Linked DNA regions of Homo sapiens: region 1 is linked to region 2. The links are contacts of gene promoters, found by promoter capture Hi-C in human tissues and cell types (Jung and others, 2019). All regions are on one chromosome and are shown on one strand. The core of a region is centred on a gene start or on the middle of the fragment in contact, and the rest is flanking DNA. Distances in the headings are between cores, read along the strand shown.

Region 1 (6,521 bases), core at 90-2,589, 290 kb after region 2:
AAGTTATTTGTAATAGTTGTGTATAAATATGTGAGTGAATGAGTATGTGTATAATATGTTTCCATATAAGGGTATAAATATATCTCTTTATACTTGCATACACTTTTGTTCAGCTTGCAAAGGCCAAGCATAAAACTGTGGCACTCAGACACATGGTTCCTTAATGAATTGTCACATCAGCAAGGGTATCGCCAAGCCTAAGAATAGCTAGAAAACCCAAAACTCTCTTGCATAATAAAGGAGAAAATTGGATGAAAGACCAAATGCCACGAAGGAGGAAGACACATAGGCCCTTCTATCTTTCTATTTCTTGTTCTTGAATCTACATCTGAAATCACACTGGATCCACATTTCTTTCTCTCTCTCTCTGTCTCTGTCTCTTTTTGTTTCTTTTTTTTTGTAGCGATGAGATCTCACTATGTTGCTTAGGCTGGTTTTGAACTCCTAGGCTGAAATGATCTCCCATCTCAACCTCCCAAAATGCTGGGATTACAGGCATGAGCCAAGCATACCTGGCTCTTTTTCTCTGTCTTGTTTTAACTTTCAGTAGAAACCCCAGCAAGCCTTCTTGCCTTCTTCCATTACTGGTGGCTACTACATTCAGTCTATGACTTTGGTTTATTTTCCCTCAGTTCTTGACATAGCAAGGGAGAATCCTTTTTATACCCCACCAACAAATTTAATACAGCTGAGAGAAGAGCATATTAAAGTTGAGAAATTGTTAGAAAACAGTTGTGTCAGTTATCCTGATATAAAGATAGGATGTTACTGAGAGGATGAACACAGCTTGGAGGAAATTTGCTTTTCGAATCAAGGATCAGAATATTACACATTCCAAAATATTATTCCATTTCTATTCTCACTCATATTTTTTTTTTTACTCAGTTCCTATAAGGAAGATGTTGGCAAAGAACAAAAAACTCATTAAGGAAATTATTGTCCACATTTTTGCCCTGCAGACAGTACACTTTAAACTCGGTTCTTAAATGTTATGTTACATATAATAAAAACTCAGTTTTTTAAAACATTGACGACAGAATAATTTTCCATGCTCAGAATACTTTGTTTTCTAAGACAGGAAGAGTCTTAAGTGTTTTTTCCATGTATAGACACCATCTAGCCTGTCAAATATTCCTTTAGTTATTCTGGAGAACTAAGATGCACTACATTATTTTACTCATGCCTTGCTCTTGAAATTTCTCAATTGGACTTTCTTATTCTATTGCTGTTTTAATTTATATATAATAATAAATTAAGGGCAATTATTTAAACTAATAAAATGGCAATGAGATTTCATAAATATATAGATGAAAGCTCTGCTGAAATAAAGATTTGTCTCATGTATATAATATCTACTTTCTAGGTTCAATCTGACACGGCCCAAAACTATACCATATACTATTCCATAAGAGGTCCTGGAGTTGACCAAGAACCTCGGAATTTATTTTATGTGGAGAGAGACACTGGAAACTTGTATTGTACTCGTCCTGTAGATCGTGAGCAGTATGAATCTTTTGAGGTAAAGTCTAAAATGTGTGTACTGTATTAGCAATGATGATGCTTGGCCATTTTGTCTCTCATTTGCAATTCACGTAACCTTTTCTGCTTTCTGAGTTTGTCACCAATGCTCTGGCTACTCCCTAATAGCACATAATTGACTTGAAACAAAAAATATTTTCATAGAATAAATAATATTGGATTCCATTAGATTGTTCCTGGTATTATGGTTTTACTATTTTTTTTTCCCCCACAACAGTACCACTTTGAAGAACAGTTTTTTTTTTTTTTTTTTTGAGACAGCATCTCACTTTGCCACCCAGGCTGAAGTGCAGTGGCGTAATCTCGGCTCACTGCAATCTCTGGCTCCGGGGTTCAAGTGATCCTCCCACCTTAGCCTCCTGAGTAGCTGGGATCACAGGCACGCACCATGATACCCAGCTAATTTTTTGTATTTTTAGTAGAGATGGGGTTTCACCATGTTGGCCAGGCTGGTCTCAAGCTCTTGACCTCAGGTGATCTGCCCATGTCGGCCTCCCAAAGTGCTGGGATTACAGGACTGAGCCACCGTGCCCGGCCAAGAACAGTTACTTAGTTGGCACAAAAAGATCTGTGAACCTCTTTATAGTATGGAGATATCATAGGAGGTAAATGAAGTTCAGTCATTAAGTAAACCTCAGTACCCTGGCAATGGGAGAGCATTAGTTTATGGGGAGCAGGTAGGGGGTGTGACAGTGCTTACCTAAGCTTACTCAGTCCTTTAATCATCTGGTTAATTTCCTATGCTGGAAAGTGAGTTAATATGAAAGAATTTAACCTAATGCTGGTTTGATTTCCCAACAGGACTTGGTCATTTTGCTTAAGTCAGTTTTAATTATTTTATGTCTATTTTGGATGAATTAATTATTCATTAGAAGACCAAATTAATCAAATAAGACAGGCAAGCTTTGAATAAAGTATTTAGGTTTAGAATTGCCATGGCCTGGCCTTCTGAGTACCTAGGATGTTCTGGCCTTTCTATGATAGCTGTTATGAGAAAATTGGTATTGAAATTCATATTATAAAAACAAAAAAATTAAACTGTATTCCACCACAGTTTACCACCATTCATTTGTTTCATTTCTGATTCACCCTTTTTAAATTAAAAATTCTTTGAAAAGACTTACCCAAATGTAACCATTGATATGCCTAAAGTCCTCATTAGTAGAAAATAGGATAATATCCCAGTTAACTGTACCTGGGTAATCCTACAGGATCCCAAGTTCAGAAAGATCCAGAAAGTTGTATTTAAAATCCATGCACCTGAACCTTTCAAACAAAGCAAAATAAAGAAGTCTTCAAGGCTGTTTGGGAAAATAACAGTAAAAATTGTTACACTCATGAATAACAGTATAGCAATAATGAAGAAACTAAAATTATCTTTCATAAATTTAAAGAGATAAATTTAAACATACAATGCCATATTGAATCATGAAATTAGGCACCTCTTTGGCATTAAAATTATATCCATATCCCAGAACAATAACAAATGGTGAGACTCATACTGTAGTTCTGAACAGTCTCCAAGTTAAAGCCAAAATGAATTTGAAGCATACCTCATTTTAAAAGATTATTTTCACTTTTCTCCTTATTTTACTCTCTTCACAGATAATTGCCTTTGCAACAACTCCAGATGGGTATACTCCAGAACTTCCACTGCCCCTAATAATCAAAATAGAGGATGAAAATGATAACTACCCAATTTTTACAGAAGAAACTTATACTTTTACAATTTTTGAAAATTGCAGAGTGGGTGAGTACCTCCTTAAACAATATATGGCAAATTAACTGTGTTTCAATTCATACATTTAGTTTCACTATGTCCGTTGAGAAGCAGCGTATCCCAGCAGCAAGAATAAGGGACTCTGGGTGGAATTTTACTCTGTGTTTCACTAGCTGTGTGATGCTTGGCAAATTTCCTAATCTTGGCAAGCCTAATTTCTTCATCTGTAAAATGGGTTATCAGTATGCCAGATTGTTATGAAGATGAAGTGAAGCTCAATACACAGCGAATGCCAAGCACAGTGCCTGACAAATAGGAGTTAATAAATGTTATGCTGTCATCCTATGGATGGATGGATGTAAGAGAACATAGCCCAAAAAGAATAAGTCTTTCACTAATTGGAGATGTAGTCTTAAAGATATGTACGGATGTTCTCTAGGATTAAATGTGATTGCCAGTATTCTGGGCACGATTATGAAAGTCACTGAGAATAATACAAACATTTTCTCAGCCCTGTGAAAATGGTCTGTTTTAACTAAAAGTCAGAATGCAGTTTTGGAGACCTTGTCTAGAAATGTCTAAGTGAACCATGCAGTTTTAGAGAAAACTGACTCCTATGATCAATCTAAGCACAAGCTTACAAACAGAGAAAAGTTATAGAATAATCAGAATTGTTTAGTCTGAAAATACATGGAGGGATAGTATCAACATTTATAAAATCATACATTAAATACAATAAATATGAATATGATCACCCAATTCGAAAATGCTAGTATGCCAGAATATTTGAAAGGAAGTGATACTGTATGGAGAGGTCTGCAAATTTATAAAAGCCATGACTTTGCCATGTAATAATGTGGTCCAGAACTTTTTTGAGGTGGGTGAAAAGGAATGAAATAAAGGGAACATAGAACATGTGAATGTTTTGGAGATTAAAAAGGACTTTTCTTCTCTAGGCACTACTGTGGGACAAGTGTGTGCTACTGACAAAGATGAGCCTGACACGATGCACACACGCCTGAAGTACTCCATCATTGGGCAGGTGCCACCATCACCCACCCTATTTTCTATGCATCCAACTACAGGCGTGATCACCACAACATCATCTCAGCTAGACAGAGAGGTAACATAAACATTAATAAAACCTGATTATAACGTGGCTATTCAATAGTACCTGTATAACTCCTGTAGATGTGTTTTTGAAAAGTATGTTGTGAATCTCATTTTAGAAACATTATTATTTTATGTATGTTAATAGAGATCACTAAATAACCTTGGAGTATGCTGGTTTTGAACTGCTAATTCATTCTTTTCTGAATTGTTTGTTTCATACAATCAGATTTCCTGATATAAACATATTTACAGTATTAAAACAAAATGTCAAATATGAAAAGTGAACCTTTTAAATATATGCAGAAATTTGTTATCTTTTCAACAATCTCATCTACATTCTACCTCTTACATAGATGAAAAGACAGTTTATGTCTCTCTAATCTCTGGTTTCCCATTTTTAATCAACTGCTAGAAATCTTGATTTGGATGTCTGACAGGTACTTATGATGTAATAAATCTAAAATTTAACTTGTCTTCTTTTCTTCTAAACATATTTTCCATTCTATGTTTTCTAGTTAAAAAGATATTTATATATTCTTTCTCTATTAATCATTTTCTATTGTCACCTTGGAGTCATGGTCTCCAAATTGTATTTGATGTCTCTTGGCCCCCCTGAATCACATCACTTCCTAAAGCATGTTTTTACCTCCAAGATTGTTTTAAATCTATATTCTGTCTCTTTCTACTGCAATACCCTAGCTTAGTAATTCATTCACTTAGTTATTCAACTATTACCTCCTCCCTGAAGCATTATTCATCTAAATTCTTATAGCAGTTTCTGTGTCCTTATTTACTATATTTATAATCCTTAATCTTAAAATATAGTAATAGATGTTTATCAGGTATTTTATTTGATTCTTAAGTCTTAAATCTTCAGATTAATTTTCTCTTCCTTCCTCTATCCCTCATGGATTAGGGTAGAGGTTCTCAAAAGCTTTGGTCTCAAGACCAATGCTTGACATTATTACATATTGTTAAATATTGTTGAATACTGTTAACAGTGTTAAATATTGTTGAAAATCCCAAAGATCTTTTATTTATCTAGGTTATATTTATCTATGTTACTTGTTAATGTTTAAAACTAAGGAAAGTTTAAATTATATATTAATTTAAATATTAAAAATAATAAATTAATTACATGTTAACAGTTAAAATTCTTATAAAATAACAGTAAAAATTGTTACACTTTTTCTTCTTTTTGTACTTACAAAATAAGTACATTTTCCAAAACAGTACAATTTAGTGGGAAGAATGACATTGTTATGCATTTTTCCAAATGTTTTTAGTATTTTGCTTAAGACAGGTGGATTCTCATATCTCCTTCTGCATTTAGTCTGTTACAATATGTAGTTTTAGCTGAAGCATATATAAAGGCAATCTGACATGATATAAAATTAGAAAAGAGAGTAGTATTTTGATGATAATTACAGATCACTGTGGATATTATTCCTTGATACTACATGAATACTTGATAAGGAGTAGCTTGTTTCCTAAATGTTTTTGGTAATGTGGACTCTGAATCCTCAACAATGACCTTTTGTACTTTATTACGTTAAAATCCATTGCTCTATCTTACACTTTGAGTGACCATTTTACCAGTACATCATTCTATATTGTGCATTGGTCATTTGGAAAATATTGGTTCACCAAGTAATGCAGAGCTTCCAAATATTGACACATTGCATTAAATAATATCAAAAAGATCACCTCTTTACTTCCATTGATATCACATTGGTTGATAAAGGTTTTCCAAGCTTCTCATTTTTGTTTGAAATCTCCAATTTATCATTGGCAACAAATAGTTGTTTTCCCTGAAGTGACAGATTAACTTTATGTTTTACAAAATACTTTCATAAAACTATAGTCTGCATAGCCATAGATGTCTATGTGAAAATAGCATTCTATGGAAAAAAAAAAAAAGCAAAAACTCAACAGCTTGTTCAGCTCCTAAATCAAACAATCACAGAAGTGCTTTTCTTTGAATAGATTCTTCTGAAATAATCAGTTGAAAACACTTGTCCAGTGAAGGTGTTTATCCAGTGGTGCTCTCTAGTAACTTTTTGACCTCAGGATTCCGGTTTTCTTCAGTTGCCTACAACCTTTTAGTCCCTTTAAACATCAGAATTTCTCTTCCATCTGAAGATAGCAT
Region 2 (6,035 bases), core at 1,361-3,860:
GAACTTCTACTATGTAAGTATTCAGTGGAGATAATTTTAGAATTGCAGTTTCTACAGTGGAAGCAACTTAATAACATCATGTCTAACCATACATTCTCACATGAGGTCAAAGGAAGCCCTGAGAAGTTGGGTGCTTTTGCCAAAGTTACACAGCCACTTTGAAGAGGAGCTGTAATTCAAACCCGGGACTTCTGAATCTCGATTCACTGTTGAATGTCCCTCACCACCCCTGTCTGTTTTATAGAAGAACATGATAAGCATCCTTAGGAAGAAAATGCCAAATGACTCGTGATAAAATCAGTGCCCTATTGTAATCTAGAGTTTTGAGTACCTTTTGCTGGTTAGCCAGTCAGAACTTTGTTTACAGTGCTCTTTGCGGTTGAGATGTAGCTGACACAAAGTACCTGTGAGTCTCTGAGAGGCTGCCACACCCTCATTAGTGTAAGCTGCAATGATGCCCCAGAGAGTCTTTGATTTAGTTAATGAAGAAGGGGCAGAGTTCAAGTTCAGGAAATTAAAGAGAAGTAGGCATGTCTACTTTCCTATAATATCTATAACATCTCATTGATTCTCCTTAAACAATTCTTGTATTTGTTTCAATTTTGAAATATGCCAGAAGTCTCTACCTCCCAATTCCAGACACTATTAATTGATATGGTAAGGGATCTTTTAGACAAGCATAAAGAAAAAAAATACTTAAAGAACTTTTTCACAATTACCGTGAAATGTCAAACACAAAGACTTCAATATCAATGAGGAGTAGGAGGAATTAAGTATTAAAAACGCTAGTATTACCAAGGAAAATAAATAAATACTACCAAAAAAAGATCCTGAGAGTCTGAAGTATAATACTCTTTCAAGATCAAGGAGAAGAATCAACTCTTCAATTAAATAATATTATCATAAATCATGCCTGTGCAGAAGGCAATGGGAGGCAAGATTTAGTGCTCAGAAGTGGCCTCTAAAATCTTGACACATACAATTTTCCTTACAGAAAACCAAAAGTTTATCTGAGTCAAAGCATGAATATACTCGGTAGAAGAGTAACAAGAGGTATATCCTCATAACTTACTATTTCAATTGAAGACCAAGTCCGATTCTTGCCTCTTCTTTTAGTAACATTTATTTTATTTAGTAAATAAATAATGATCATTGTAACAGAATATTGCCCTTCGTCTTATGTTTTTAAGTTTAAAAATATTTTTCAAAAATGGTATTGTTTAATAATCTGTCTCCTAAACTCAGAGGATGCAATATTCTACCACTGTTGTCACGTTCCCTTTTGAGCTTGGGGTTGTGTGCCCTTTGGCAGTGTTCGGCTCCCGCACTGCTCTTGAAGTTTAGAAATGTGAATTCCAGAAGAGTAGCTCTCACTGTGCCTCTTGGACAATGACGTGCTCCCATCTCTCCCAGCCCTAGCTACTCTCTGTCTCTTACAACTGATGTTCAGAGGAGTCTGGTATAATTGCCACTTGCCTAAGAATAGGATGGGAATCACTTTCTAAGCTTAGGTTGTAGCGCTAACCTGGATACTCCTGGGAGATTGAAGTGTGGCCAACTATAATGCATTTGTCTTAATTTACTTTGAAAAATTTGTACAGTTCCTAATAATCCTGTCCTCTTACCCTCCCAGAATTGGCAATAGTTTGTTGATTGGCCAACTGGAACTTTGTTCTTCTTTGGAGTTGGAATTATCTCTTTCTAGGGTAGGATATTTGCTATGCATGCTGCCTGTCTGGAAATCATGTCACACCTTGGGCACCCAAAGGTTAGAGGAAAGAAATATAATATCCAAGATGCCATGTTTACTGTAAAGAAATAAGTCATTTAAATATTTCTTTGCTGGTCTGTAGGAATGCATTCATAATTCCAGAAAAGTTTTGTCTTGATGGCTGGGCTTCATTTTTCTTTAGCAATATCTGACTGGAAAAAGTTCTCATGACTTTAGTATGTCATCATTAGTTGCAATGTAATTTCAACATGGCTATCATTCCTCCACTTTGAAAGAAACTCATAGGGAAATAACTATTGAAAAGAAATGGGTTTGATTAACTTCCCTTCAAATTTAGAACCCATTTGCACTGGCAGTTTTCACAGCAATCTATCTGATTTATTTATATGATCATAGAATATGAATTTTATTTCCAATTTAAAATTTTAGAATAGTCCTAACACTCAAAGTGAAGTAGATTATGTCTCTGAGGGCATATAAATTTAATTCAGCCAGATTCTCACCCCGCTTCTCTATGGCATTTTGTTCCTCAAGGCGGAGAGAGTTGTTTGAAATTAACAGAGGCTGGACTTCTAGAACTCTCTTTGCAGGAAGGAGATTAAAAATGGAATAAATCCCATGTAGAAAGCCCGACAGTTGACAGAGACAAGACCTTGAGGCTGCATTTCCTTCCCACCTCTTTAAATTCTACTTACCATTAGAATGATCAAAAGGCAAATGTTTCTGAAGAAGAGCCAATCCATTCCTTTGGGTTTCTCTTGCACGCAAATCCTGTGAGATTCAATTTGAGCCCTCGTCTTCTCAGTTCCGAATTCTGCTCTACAGAAAGATATGCTTTGAGACACCCTTTTAGGAGGGCATGGGTGATAACTGTGGTGATCTCTGGGCAGAGAGATGAAGATATTCTATAATGACTGTTTCCCCACCCCAAACTCCCAGGCTGGTCTGGAAGACTGGCATTGTTTGGGCTCTGGGTAAGAATTTAGACACACCTTGATTCTTATTGCAATGAAACCCTTTGTTGGACACCAAAGAAAAACCTTACAGAGCGAGGACAAGATTTACAGGGAAGATAGCCAGTGAATAATAAATTACTCACAACATAAAAAATAATTAAAATGCTAGGGCCTATCATCATGCTGAATAAAATTAGAAGGCTTCTTCTTACTGCCAACATTGTAAAAGCAAAATTACATATACTGACAACACATACACACACATGTCCACTGCAGAACCCACTTCAAGGAATGATACTTTTAGCAGAGGCCATTGTTGAAAGTCATCAGGACTCAAGTATGGTATAGGAAGAAAGATAGAATAATGACGCTCATTTCAATTCAGTTGAGTCCTGCTTCTCTCTTTAAAATGTCTTGTGGTTGAACCGCACTCTCAATTTTAAAGATTTTCTGAAATAACAAAGTTAAGATGAAGGAACTCTGATTTAACTAGTACCAGTATGTTTGTTTCCATACTTTGGCATTTTCTTTCTTGATTATTCAGTCAAACCTCTACAATATGATATTTACAAAATCATTTTAAAGTAACTACAATACAACATTCTCACTTCTCATAGTATTACCACTGATAAAAAGTACATAATGTGGGTGAGGAACACATTTTACACCACCACAAATATTTATTAAGGAGAAACTGAAGTTGGAAACGTGAGAATTTAATGAAAAAAAGCCCAGAGTGGGATCTGGATATTTTTGAATATTATTTCCCTTTTTCGTGTCTCCCTTTTCCTTTGTTAGTATGGGTTTGAAACAGGGTATAGAGTGTCCTGATGCAAACATTGCAGGCTGGCAGCAACATCAATAAACTTAAAAGAAAATGCAGTTAACTGTTCTCTGATTGATAGATAATACATGTTGGTTGGAGAATTTCAAAGGGAGACTGCCTCCTGTCTTCACTATCCCATCACTGTAATTCAGAAACAAGGTTGACCCTGGTAATAGAATGTATTCTAAGTATTGCTTAGTTTCTTGAGAAAAGTAGTTTTAGTATTTTTGGAAGCCAGATAAAGTAATTTACTTTTGCATTATTTCATGTCATGTTGAATTAGATAATTTAATTTGCCTAAGAGAATTAATGAAACAACTCCAGGTCTTTAAGTGACATTGCTTTTTACAAGGGAAAAACAACATTCTTCTCTATTGTTGTGTTTGAAGGAGATATTTCACAAAGGTCTCTATCTTTTGTTTACACTATAGATGATTTCTTCTACATATAAGATTTTTCTTATATTTTCTTCTAAATATAAGATTTTCTATCTACTTGAATGCTATTTATAGGATGAGTTTTAAAGAAAAGAAACAGGAAGCAATAGAAATAGGTACTAGATCATTTATGTGGGTACCTCTAGCTTTCTCCATTTGAAACTCCTGATTTCAATGGTATCCAGAATTTGAATCCAGATTATAATTATGAACATATTTAAAAGATTCTTCAGTAACTAAGGAGGAACTACCTGAAGCCCCATCATTTCATTTCTGTTTACTCCTTGGAGATTTGTGGGAATGATCTTTTGCTTTAAAGTTTTTTTTGGAGACAGAGTCTTGCTCTGCTTCTCAGGCTGGAGTGCAGTAGTGGTCTGAGTGCAGCTCACGGCAACCTCTGCCTCCTGAGTTCAAGTGATCCTCCCACCTCAGCCTCTCAAGTACTTGGGTTTACAGGTGCATGTCACCACACTTGGTTAATTTTAAAAATATTTTGTAGAGACAAGGTCCTGCTATATTGTCCAGGCTGGTCTCAAACTCGTGGGCTTAAGTGATCCTCCTGCCTTGGTCTCCTAAAGTACTGAGATTACAGGTGTGAGCTACTGTTTCCCACAGGGGATGGATGATTTTACAGTGGAATTCCCAAAGACAAAACTTGGTTATGGTTCTGAGCTTGTGTAGATAAAGAGTAGCTACTTCCGTTTCTCTTGAAGAGTATCAGTCATTGTAGAAACAGAGCATAAAACATTAATGCTTAAAGATACCACAGAGATCATATAATCCAATCTCTCCTATCTTGCCTCTCTCCTACCCATGTGATAGTGATAGTCTAGGGAGGCTGTATGGTTTATTAGGGTCAAAGATAGGCAAGAGTTCCATCTCCTCATTCATAGTCAGTTTATATAAATACCAAGCCACTTTTCATTATTAGCTACGTATGTGAAGGCAAAATAGTGGATGGTTAAACACTATTAGCTTTAAAAGACTTTCCCATACTTTAGAGTTTACTGAACTGTTGGTTCTATGAGCAGAATTTTTAGCAAGTTTTTTATAGTATTTATTTTTGATGTCAAACCAGTGACATTTCATTTGCTCAGATGAAACCATACATTGGCTTTTAGGGATGCTACTGATATTTAATTATTGTACTTATGCTTCTATAATATTGTATAAAGTAGCAAGACACCTTTATTCTCCACATCACATCTGTGTAGAACACAGTGAGAGCTTTAACACCTGTACTTTTCAAATCAATGCCACAAAAGGCAAGGAATTCAATACATGCCAATACAAGTCCTCTTTGAAAAACAGAAATGTAATTTATACAGACAAAGATATTGTGGAAATGACATTAGGGCAAACTTTTCCATCAAATTATTCTAGTCTAGGGTTACTACTGGATATTATTCAAATATCCAAGGACAATTCTATTTCTTGAAAGCAAGAGTTAGGGGGAAGGAAATTTAAAAAATAATTATGGTCCTAAAGTATGGTGGTCAAATGCAGCACAAGTTGTTTCCAGAGCTGACGCAAGCAAAAGGTTTTCATCTGCCTGGGCCTGGGGAGGCGGGGACAAAAGGTAAACAAGGCTTGTCAGGGTTTTGACCTAGAGTCATTGCTGTGAACACATGTCTGTTCACCTACCACACTGAAGATAAACATCCTGTCCCCTCATTAAAGGCAACTTATGTATGGCAACAAGGGGCCGGCCAACCAGGTTATTTAGTGGGTGTTAGAAATCATAGAGATTAAACATCAGTTTCGTAAAGAGTTATGTTATTTCCATAAAGATGATGTTAGTTTACACCCTAAAATCATGCTTACATCCTGACAGAGATGCCTTGTTGATTATCTCTGTGAATTCACAGGTATAGGATGTATTCCAAATAAGTGGAGACAGAAGAGCGTGGCTTCTAGCTGTATGTTAAATAAAGCGTATTACTTACATACTTATTGCATACTTGCTACATACTTATCTAGGAAATATCATCTTAGTTTGCCTCCTGCCTCCCGATGACTACAGTGGCAACCATTCTACAGTGTGATAATTATTTAGATGTCACTCTGGTTTCTTCAGTGACACT

Evidence for each region. Contacts are between HindIII fragments. The study calls those that stand out against the background at their distance.
Region 1: a contact is called between a fragment that was not itself captured here and the fragment with the promoter of DSG4 in region 2, in 4 of the 25 tissues and cell types used here (H1 embryonic stem cells, heart left ventricle, mesendoderm cells and 1 more).

The regions. Positions count from the first base shown.
Region 1 is chr18:31,084,437-31,090,957 of GRCh38, reverse strand. It overlaps DSC2 (desmocollin 2), which reads left to right. Exons shown (of 16, transcript NM_024422.6): 5 at 1,364-1,519; 6 at 3,145-3,289; 7 at 4,216-4,382. Among named protein-coding and RNA genes, the nearest start is that of DSCAS, 14 kb to the left of the region's middle. The HindIII fragment of the contact is 6,527 bases long and covers 1-4,602 here.
Region 2 is chr18:31,373,352-31,379,386 of GRCh38, reverse strand. It overlaps DSG4 (desmoglein 4), which reads right to left and starts at 2,610. Exons shown (of 16, transcript NM_177986.5): 1 at 2,428-2,610. The coding sequence starts at 2,475. The region is part of intron 1 of DSG1-AS1 (DSG1 antisense RNA 1); the gene reads left to right. The HindIII fragment of the contact is 6,705 bases long and covers 388-6,035 here.